Linked DNA regions of Homo sapiens: region 2 is linked to region 1. The links are contacts of gene promoters, found by promoter capture Hi-C in human tissues and cell types (Jung and others, 2019). All regions are on one chromosome and are shown on one strand. The core of a region is centred on a gene start or on the middle of the fragment in contact, and the rest is flanking DNA. Distances in the headings are between cores, read along the strand shown. Region 1 holds the start of GRP (gastrin releasing peptide). Region 2 overlaps CPLX4 (complexin 4).

The links. Contacts are between HindIII fragments. The study calls those that stand out against the background at their distance.
Region 2: a fragment that was not itself captured here is called in contact with the fragment with the promoter of GRP in region 1 in 2 of the 25 tissues and cell types used here (IMR-90 fibroblasts and pancreas).

Annotation. Positions count from the first base shown.
Region 1 is chr18:59,217,729-59,222,884 of GRCh38, forward strand. It overlaps GRP (gastrin releasing peptide), which reads left to right and starts at 2,430. Exons shown (of 3, transcript NM_002091.5): 1 at 2,430-2,676. The coding sequence starts at 2,538. RefSeq lists an enhancer at 1,650-2,264. The HindIII fragment of the contact is 15,677 bases long and covers 1-5,156 here.
Region 2 is chr18:59,290,577-59,295,732 of GRCh38, forward strand. It overlaps CPLX4 (complexin 4), which reads right to left. Exons shown (of 3, transcript NM_181654.4): 3 at 4,826-5,156. Among named protein-coding and RNA genes, the nearest start is that of RAX, 20 kb to the left of the region's middle. The HindIII fragment of the contact is 3,777 bases long and covers 740-4,516 here.

The DNA of each region.
Region 1 (5,156 bases), core at 1,180-3,679:
AGGCAGGAAACCTGTAGGCTGGGGTGGCCTTGGAGCAAGAGCTAAGGTGAATGGAGGGGCCTAGGTATCTCCTGGCGTGTAATGGACACAAGAAACAGTGTTGCCTGAATTAGCAGAAGTGTTGTGCTTTCTAAACAATTATTTCTACACTTGAATGTCTTTACAGTGGCTTCCCCTTAGTTTCATGGGGATGGGAGGAGGTGGAGGATTTCATTTGAAAGATTCTAAAATAATCTTGGTTAAACTAAAGAGAAAGAGCATTTTTCTACAACTTAATTTGGAGAGATAAGGGTTTAATGCGCCTCCAAAGATCCACGGTTGCAGAAGGCATTTCTTAGACCTGGGCATTTCTTAGGTTTGTTGTTCATTCGCCAAATACTTATCAAGCACCACTATGATCCAGGTGCTCTGCAGACACACAGAGGAACAATACCAAGTCCCTGTGTTGAAGCAAGCTCACTGTGTGGGAGGCAGCACGCCTAGGGATGATCAGTTGCCTGCCAATGGAACACTTGCCTACTGACAGAGCCTGGGAACGGAATGCAGAGAGGCTGGGAACCCGGGAGGGATGGAGCCCAGGCCAGTCTGTGGACCTTTTTCTTTTGATTTTCACTTAGCTCACTCACTGAGGATAGTATTATTGTATTTGGTTGGCTACCAAACTATTAATGATCTTAAAATTGACTTTTTTTCTCTTAGACCCAGACACATGCATGAAAATACTCTTCAGATCCAAGAGTACTCAGTCATGCAATGTGAGTGTGTAATCACTTAAGAATATATTGAACACCAAGCACAGTGGCTCATGCCTGTAATCCCAGCACTTTGGGAGGCCACGGCTCACTTGAGGTCAGAAGTTCAAGACCAGCCTGGCCAACATGGTGAAAACTCATCTCTACTAAAAATACAAAATTAGCCAGACGTGGTGGTGCATGCCTGTGATGTCAGCTACTCCACAGGCGGAGACAGGAGAATCACTTGAGCCGGGAAGGCAGAGGTTGCAGTGAGCCCAGATTACGCCATTGCACTCCAGTCTGGGTGACAGAGCAAGACTCTGTCTCAAAAAAAAAAAAAAAAAAAAAAGAAGAAGAAGAATGTATTGAATCAGCAGATACTCAGACACAAGTGTATGTTTTCAACTTTATCAATATCAATATATCAATATCAACACCATGTTGACATGGAACACTAAAGACCCAACAGGGAGGCAATTAACAAGCATTTGAGGAGGAATAGACCTCACCTATTCCAACCACACGGCCAACTCTGGCAGCCAAAACGTGGGCAACAGCATCCTACCAGCTTCTATTTATTGTTGCATTGCTATGGTGCTGATCCCCTTTGTATCCATGGTATTTAGAACCTCGGGGATTGGGCTGGTGACCATTCTTTAGATCTGAGAACAGAAGGAGCAGAGGAACGTTGAGCAACTCTAGAGGGGTGTGTATGTGGCAGTTTAGGGACAGTTTGAGCTTTCAGGTAGAGGCAGCCTAGGGAAACTGGCATAAAGCAGTTTCTTTCTCTATTCCATGGAAGTTGCATGCTTGTGAAAAGGGCCAGCTATCTTCTGTCTTGCCATACAAGTGGGCAGAGCTGCCTGGGAATACCAGGTGGGTTAAGGATACTGCCCTTAACCTTAAGGTGGAGGGCAGCAGAGGGGGAGAGAGAGACAGAGAGAGAGAGAGATTGGGGAGGAGGGGAGAGAGAGAGGGATGGGAAGGGGAGGAGAAGAGAGAAGGGGAGTGGAGGGGAGGGGAGGGTATGGGAGTGGAGAGGAGGGGAAGGGAGGGGAGAGGAGGGGAGAGGAGGGGAAGGGAGGGGAGAGGAGGGGAGAGGAGGGGAGAGGAGGGGAGGAGATCTGCAAGAAAGAGGCAAGGTCCAGAAAAAGAGAGAGAGATCTGCAAGGAGGCAAGGTTCCAAAATCTATGGGCTGGGACAGCAAAGATGTGGCCTACGAAGAGAAAGGTCTGGAGAATCAGAAGGCCTTCAAATGGTGGTTCCAAATCCCTCCAGCAAAGCCCATCCATCTTTAGAGCTCACCCGTCTCCAGCTACACCCCCCACCCCTCCCGGCCCAGATCAGGCAGCGGGGTCGCCCTCTCCAGGACTCTCAAGGCAGCTAAGGCTGGAGGCGCCGGCGAGCCTGGAGAGGGAGGAGTTCACTAAATTGTGTTGGATGGAAGGCGTCGAGGACCGGAGGAATTAATCCGATGTGGGGAAGGCGGACGGGGCTACGAGGAAAAAAGAGGGGGCAATGTACACTCAGCCTTTTCATCACTCGGCGGGGAGATGGATGGTTTTCCGGACCGGGCGTCCCAGCGCCCCGGTTAGCTATAGGGAGACGTCAGAGCGCTCTGGTCCGCGATAGAAGAGCCCCCCAGCCCCCCCGCCCGGGCTTCCATATAAAGTAGGGGCCCTAGTGGAGGCCGCAGCAGTAGCACCAGCGGCTGCGGCGGCGGAGCTCCTCCGAGGTCCGGGTCACCAGTCTCTGCTCTTCCCAGCCTCTCCGGCGCGCTCCAAGGGCTTCCCGTCGGGACCATGCGCGGCCGTGAGCTCCCGCTGGTCCTGCTGGCGCTGGTCCTCTGCCTGGCGCCCCGGGGGCGAGCGGTCCCGCTGCCTGCGGGCGGAGGGACCGTGCTGACCAAGATGTACCCGCGCGGCAACCACTGGGCGGTGGGTGAGTGTCCTGGCCGCGGGAGCCGCGCGCTTGTCCTCCTCTGGATCAGCCAGCCGGAGGGGACCTGTCTCCCCATTTCTTTGCGTTTCCCTGGCCCAGCTTTGGGAGCTGGGTTTGTTGTGACCTTTCTATCGGCAAACACCTTCCCCGTTCTCCTAAAACTCCACCCCACCTTTCCCCATTCTAGGGAGCCCATGAGTCCCTAGTCAGCCGCAGGCTGGTCCGCTGATCCTTTCCCGCTCGCTTCCAGCCTGTCTTCCCCAGGGCACCCGAGCTCCCAACAGCCAACCCCGGTGCAGATCACCTTCCCTCTGCGCCCATCCTACATCTCCTTTTGTCCGCCTAGTCTCAACCTGTCTGGCACGGTACTCTCCTAGAATAATCTTGGGGAGCGTTGTCCCTTGAAAGCATCTCAGAACCCTGGTCCAGCTCGGTGGCCTCAACAGCGACTGGCATGGGCTGAAATCTAAGCTGCGCCTATGCTCCCCGCAAAGCCACAGGTGTGGGGACCTAGGGTGCAGCGCTCCCGCCCCGGGTTTCACATCTGTTCAGTGCGCAGTGCCCTGAATCCCGCCTGTCTGTGACTCTCTGGAGTTTCCTCAGTCCTTCTCTTCGCTTTGCAGCGATATTCTTTTCCCTGCCCTTTTGCCCTCCCTCTTTCCAGCCAGCAGGCTCTGAGCTTGGGGAATCTCGCCTGCTCTCCAAGCTCATCCCGATCTCTCTGCCCCTCTGAGCTCCGCTCTTTCTCCGCCCTTCTTGACCCACGACTTCGCCCTTTCCCCTCGCTCCTTTCCCATTCCCTCTGCAACAGGTCCTGCTCTCTAGGCACCGGCTTGGAGGCTCCCTCGCCATGGCCCCTAGAACCCAGGCGGAGAGGACGGCCGCGCTGCGGGTGCGGAGGGCGCCTGCGGGTGGGGTCAGGATTCCGCCCTGCGCGCACTCGCTGCTTTCGCTCAGCTGGGAGGCAGGAAGCGCCTGGCAGCCTCGGCTCACCCAGCATCACCCCAGGGCTCTCGGCGTCGCCGAGCATAGCTTCCAGCAAACGCAGAGCGTCCAACTTCCTCACTCCCCCACCTACCCGCCCCACAAAAGCCAACTACAACAACCCCAACCAGCTTCTTGGGAAGCTGGTTAATCCCTGAAGAGATTTAAGAGTGTGTATGTGTGTGTGTCTCTGTGTGTGTGTGTCTCTGTGTGTGTGTGTGTGTGTGTATTTCCTTAGCCATCTACTTAGAACGGGCGCTGGGGAACGGTGTGTTGAACAAGTACTTGCTAATTCATATATCGGCTGATTCACAAATCTTGATAGAAGATAAATAATTTGGGGGAAGGAGTGGGACTGGAACTGTTGCTTCCTCAGCTCGTCTGTGTCGTGTGTGCTTTTGTGAGGGAAGTCGAGATCTTTGGGCTGCAATAGAGTGGTTTCCACTGTTGCTAAAATAATCATTTGCCAAGTCTTGACAGTTCCAGAGATGAGAGGATGTGTGATCGCTGAGGGACAGGAGGAACCCAGCAGTCTGGTGTGGAGAGGAGAGGTTGGAATGGGTGAAGCTGAAAAACCCTCCATTTCAAGAATGAAGGATGCTTAGCAGGTGTTGAAGAATCCAAACTTAGAATTGATGCTTCTTAAAGAGGGCTTCTGGGAGCTTAGATCAAGTGGCCATTATCTGGCCCAGCCACCAGCCAATGGGGCTGGAAAGATGGAATGAAAGTTCTGGATTCCCAATCTCTTTGTACTCATCTATATTATTGCACTAATAAAGCTTATTATTAGGTAACGCTTGCAGGCCCAAAGGAGGACAATAGAGTTAACTGGGGAGTGGCATCGTGTTATTTCTGGTGCAAGTCAAGCCAATCTTGATTTGCTGTAGTTCCGCAGAACATCTGTCTCCAGGTATTTAGGGTGTCTGCCGTTTAATTGCCCTTCATAGTGGTACTTGAGCATTCCTAACCCAAAAGAATACCAACCAGTGGTGACCCCAAATACCATTTTCATATTTATTCTCAAATGCACTTTTTTCTCTCCCTTTGATAACTGTGCAGAGTTGAGGAGGAGCAAGGGAAAGAGGGAGGTGAAGTAGAAACTCACATTTTAGCCTAAAATTACCTTGCGGTTGAGAAAACGTTTGCTTTGAGTAACATGCCCTCTGTTGGAATATGAGCATTGACAAGGATGAATGATGTTACACTTCAAATTTAGCTTTCAGTTATCTCAAGAAAATGCTTATCCTCTTCAATCACCAAAGACATGTAGTTTAGTTTTAATTATATAAAACCAAAGCTACATGCTGCTGTCCATGAGGATGCTGTCAGCACACATTTACAGGCTTGGTAAGTAAATTGCTTCTTCTAGCTGAGAGAAGCATGGTGCAGCAATGGAAAAAAGGTTAACAGCTTGAAAACTTAACAAATTTTTATCTGGCTTGATGTTCGTGGAAATGTTTTGTTTGTGTGATGAAAATATATGACAACACTTATAC
Region 2 (5,156 bases), core at 1,378-3,877, 73 kb after region 1:
GCACAGAACTATACACACCCATTATGCCACTGTCAATTTTCTGGTTTTGATATTGCACTGTAATTATATAAGATGGAACCATTGGGAGAAGCTGGGAGAAGGGTACATGGGACCCTTTCTGTACTATCTTTGCAATTACCTGTGAATCTATCATTATTTCCAAATAAAAATTTAGAAAAATCAGTTGACATATAATTGTGGATCTATTTCAGGTACCAGTATCGATCAGTACCAGTATCAATTGGTACCAATATCACCCTGTCATGGTTACTGTAGCTTCATAGTACAGCCTTAAGCAAGTGGAGTAAACCCTCCAAACTTGTTTTTCTTTTTCAAGATGGCTCTGTATATCCTACTACACTTGCCTTTCCAGTTATATTTTTGAAACAGCTCATCTTTTCCTACATGATAGGATTATGATTGAGACTGCACTGACTCTATAGATCAATTTGCTGTTTATTGATAGCATGACAATATTGAATCTTCTGATCCATAAACATTTATTTAAGTATTCTTGAATTCTCTCAGGAATGTGTTGCAATTTTCAGTGTACAGGCCTTCTACATCTTTTGCTACATTTATTACTAACAATTTTAAGTTTCCTAATGCTATTGGAAATAAAATTGTTGTAATTCCATTTTTGAATTGTTTGCAGCTAGTATATAAAAATGCAATTGATCATTATATACTGACATTGTTTCCTGCAACCTTACTAAGTTAACTTATTAGTTCTGGTGGTTGTTTTATAAATTCCTTATAATTTTCTGTGTTAGTAATCATGTCATCTGTGAATAGAGACAGTTTCACATCTTCCTTTCCCATCTTTTCTTTTCTTCCTTTTCTTCTCCTTTATTGCACTGGCCAGGGCCTTGGTACAACGTTGAAAAGAAATAACGAGAGTAAATTTCTTTGTCTTGTTCCCATTTCTAGAGGAAAGTATTTAATGTTTTACCATCAAGGATGTTAGCTGTTGGTTTTTCAAAGATGCTCTTTATTGAGTTGATAAAGTTTTATTCTAATCTTAGTTTGCTGAGAGTTTTAAATCAACAATGGGTATTGGATTTTGATAAATGCCTTCTCTGTTGACATAAATGATTATATGGGGTTTCTCTTTATTGTGTTAATATGGTGAATTATATTTATTGAGTTTTGAATGTTAAATTAAATCAACCTTGAATTTGTAAGATAAACCTCATTTGTTCATGATATATTGTCCTTTTTGTGTATTGCTTTGTCCTTTTTGTGTATTGCTGGATTTTCTTTTCTTTTTTTTTTTTTTTGAGACAGATTCTCCCTCTGTCACCCAGGCCGGAGTGCAGTGGTGCGATCTCAGCTCACTGCAACCTCCTCCTCCAGGGTTCAAGTGATTCTTATGCCTCAGCCTCCCAAGTAGCTGGGACCACAGGTGTATGCCACCACACCCAGGTAAATTTTTTGTATTTTTAATAGACATGGAGTTTCACCATGTTGTCCAGGCTGGTCTCGAACTCCTGATCTCAAATGATTTGCCCACCTCGGCCTCCCAAAGTGCTGGGATTACAGTGGTAAGCCACCACATCCAGCCTGGATTTTATTTTCTATTAGTTGTTGAGAATTTTAAAAATTTAAATTCAACAGAGATATTGGCCTGCAATTTTCTTTTTTTTAAATAATGTTTTTGTCAGGTTTTGGCATCAGGATTATATTTGCCTTATAAAATGACTTGAGAAGAATTTCTTCTTCCTCTTTCTGAAAGAGTTTGGGTAAGATTGTGCTATTTTCCCTTAAATATTTGATAAAAGACACCAGTGAGGCCATCTAAGCTTGGTGTATTCTTTGTGGGAAGGGTTTTAATAATTATTTCTATTTTTTTAAGACATAGGGTTATTCTATATATCTTGCATCAGTATTTGTGAGGTGCATTTTTTTCAAGGAATTTGTTAAGTTCACCTAAATACTTGTCAAGTTTATTAGCATAAAGTTCTCCATAATATTCCCTTATCCTTGAATGACTGTAGGATTTGTAGTGTATCCCCTCTTTCAATGTTGATATTGGTCATTTGTGTACTCTTACTTGTTTCTTAAGCAATTCAGCTAGGTGTCTGTCAAGTTTGTTGATCTTTTAAACGACCAACTTTTGGACTTCTTAATTTTTTCTATTGTTTGTCTGTTTTCTATTTCATTGGTTTGTGCTCTCTAGTGTTTCCATCCTTCTACTTACTTTGCTGAGTTCTGTTATGTTTTTCTGAAGATTATTTTCATTTGTTTGTCTGTTTGTTTCATAGTCAGCAAACATGGCTGGATTCAAACTCAAAACCCTGTTTCTCTTAAGTGGGCAGTAACAGAATTCTTAGTTCAGTTTGTTTAGCCTTCACTGGGCTGCTCAGAGTATGCCTAATCTATGCATAGTTCAGGGATTAGCCAGGATCTTGAAGAGACTTTATACACGAATTTAAAATCCCCCTCCTATAGCTCTCTCCTTTCTAGGATTCGCTCTTTCATTTTGCAGCTGCTGTGGGTACCCCAAACTCTGCTGGTTCTTCAATACATTAAGGCTGCAGGTTTTCTATCTGAGTTTTAGTTGTCTTACTTGGCTTCAAGTGGGGTCTGCCTTCAGATGAAACCTGTAAGCAAAGGAAAACTCACCAGTGCTTTTTCCTTCTTCTCAGTTCAGGTTTCATTTCTCTCCAGTGTGGACCTGCTTTTGGCTGCTTCCAGTGCTTTCAGGCAATTGTTTCTTTATATTTTGTTCATAGTTTATGGTTGTTATTTGCAGGAGGGTTGATCCAGTAGGAGCTTATTCTCCACTATCAGAAGCTGTAAGCTCTAGTTTTTTCACTTTTAATTTCACTCCTCTCCCTGTGTCTGATGGTTCTGTTTGTAAGCAGGAATTTGGCTAAATTTCTAGTGCCAGGAGCAAAACCAAGGTACTTACATAACTCACAAACTAGATCAGTTGGTTTCTGGGTAACTGAGCTCACTATATCAATAGTCCTTCAAAAGCAGAACTCCTGCTTCATTGTACTGTAGGAGTCCATATCTAATTGGGACTAGACTAAGCAAAATTGGGAAGTCCATTTAATTTGTCTTCTTGGAATTTATTCTTCAGCACCTGTCCCCAGAGTCATTATGGTTCCTTCTGCCTGAATAGAAATGCCCCCCTGGATCTCTAGATTTTTCTCTCCTCTCTTTTAGCATCTATCAAAACTCTCTCTTCCTCCCCGCCACTCCTGGAGCCTGGTGTCCCTTTCCTCAGTTGAAGCTAGTAAAGGACTGAAACCTAGTTCTGTGGCAGTGACAATGGGCTAATGTACTCTCTTTCACAAGATAAATCTCCACAGTGACCACCCTGAAACCATAGAATGAATTACAGAAGGTAGAGTAATCCAGCCCCCTCATTTTCACTGTTGAGAAAATGGATTTCCAGATAGTATAAATAACTGGTCCGAGGTCATGTGCTAGTGGGGTTGGGACTAAAATCCTCATTCCTGACTATGAGTTGGCTCAGGAATGGCTTCAAACATCAAGTCCAGTGGCAGGGTGTGGAAGGGGACAGCATTGCTGCCTTCTGCATGGTTGGCTTCACTCCTAGACATGGGCAGTCAGCATTCAATTACCCAGTGGGTTCACAGTGTTCCTACTGTATGATAAGAATTGACAAAAAGAAGTAAGGATGTCTTCCTGAAAAAGAGAAAACTGAGAGGGGATATATCAAAGCCTGAGTGGGAATGTAGGCACAATCTGTGCAGTTTAATTCAACAGAACCATGACCAATGGATTAAAGATGCAACCATTTTCAGCTTAAGACAAAGAAGGATTTTCTAACAACTAGAGCTGTCTACAAATGGAAGAGCTGGTGGTTAAATTTCCTTGGAGCAGCAGATAGTGACTTCTGTACCACTGGAAGCTTTCAAATAAGGCTCAACTGGGACAGTTTGGGAAGGGTCCCTTTATTGTATGGGAGATTGGAATAGATTCCCTCGTAGTCCTTAATAATTGTTGGATTCTAGGTTTTGATGATGGGAGACCTTTTTGTGCTCCTCAACATCATACAGCACAGACACCTATCTACCCTCTAGAGAGAAAGGGGCCTTCTGGATGCCCTAATACATGTCCTCCCTCTCCCAACCCATACACATGTGATTTGGTGTTGATTGGGGTGGTGTGGTTTGGCATGGTGAGGGGTGGTTTAGTGTGGGGTGGTGCGTTGTAGTGTAATGTGGTGTGATAGGTTGTGGTCTGGTGTAATGTGATGTGGGGTGATGTGATATACTGGGCTGTGTTGTGGGGTTGTATGGTGTGATATGAGAGGAATCATGGTCAGAGTCTTCTAGCAGCTGTGCAGCTTCATTGAGACAACGACCAAATTGCATTGGAGTAATGTTGGCAGTCAAGAGGAAGTGCCAATTTAGTGATTTCCTTAGCAGAACTGGCTGCATCTTTTACAAGAAAGCACATCTTCTTTGTCATCCTGAGGCTAGAGTGTGGAACAATTTGGCAGCTGTAGTATTTTATGTCATACAAAGTGTACAGATATCAGGCCACATACAGCACCTCTCACCCATCCATACTACCCACCTCACCAACTACAGGGCAGAGTCAGGCATTAAACTGAAAATAAATGTTATCTATTATATTGTAGTTTTTAAAAAAGTGAGTTTTTTAAAGTTTCTGCTATAAAACAAATCACAACTCACATGCCATTTCTGATAAAAGACAAGCACAGTTTTAAAATGTGCCCATGGCATCTGGGTTTGTGGACTAGAAGGCTAATCAGCCTCAATCATTGCACCAATGTTCTCCCAGGAATTTCCAAGACAGATTAAACTTTGCCAAGGACCATAGGTTTTGGACCTCTATTCATTTGTTTTATTTGCTTAATTTTATTACATGAAACTTTTTGTACAACACATTTGAGAACCCTGGGTTTAGAACAACTTAGACCCTAAGTTTTCGGTCTCAGTTTCCTTTTCCTTTGATAGATCTTTATTCACTGTATGAACAGAGTCACCAAAAAAAAAAAAAAAAATCAGTATTTTGTTTTGGTTTGGTGGGCTTTAGCTAAATAGCTCGAAGTGTTTCAGTGGTAATTGTCCTAAGTCTTTTGAATTATTCCTTTTGAAAGAGAGCAGATATTAGGGGGGAAAAATCAGTGTCTACCCTGAAAGCTTGTGGCA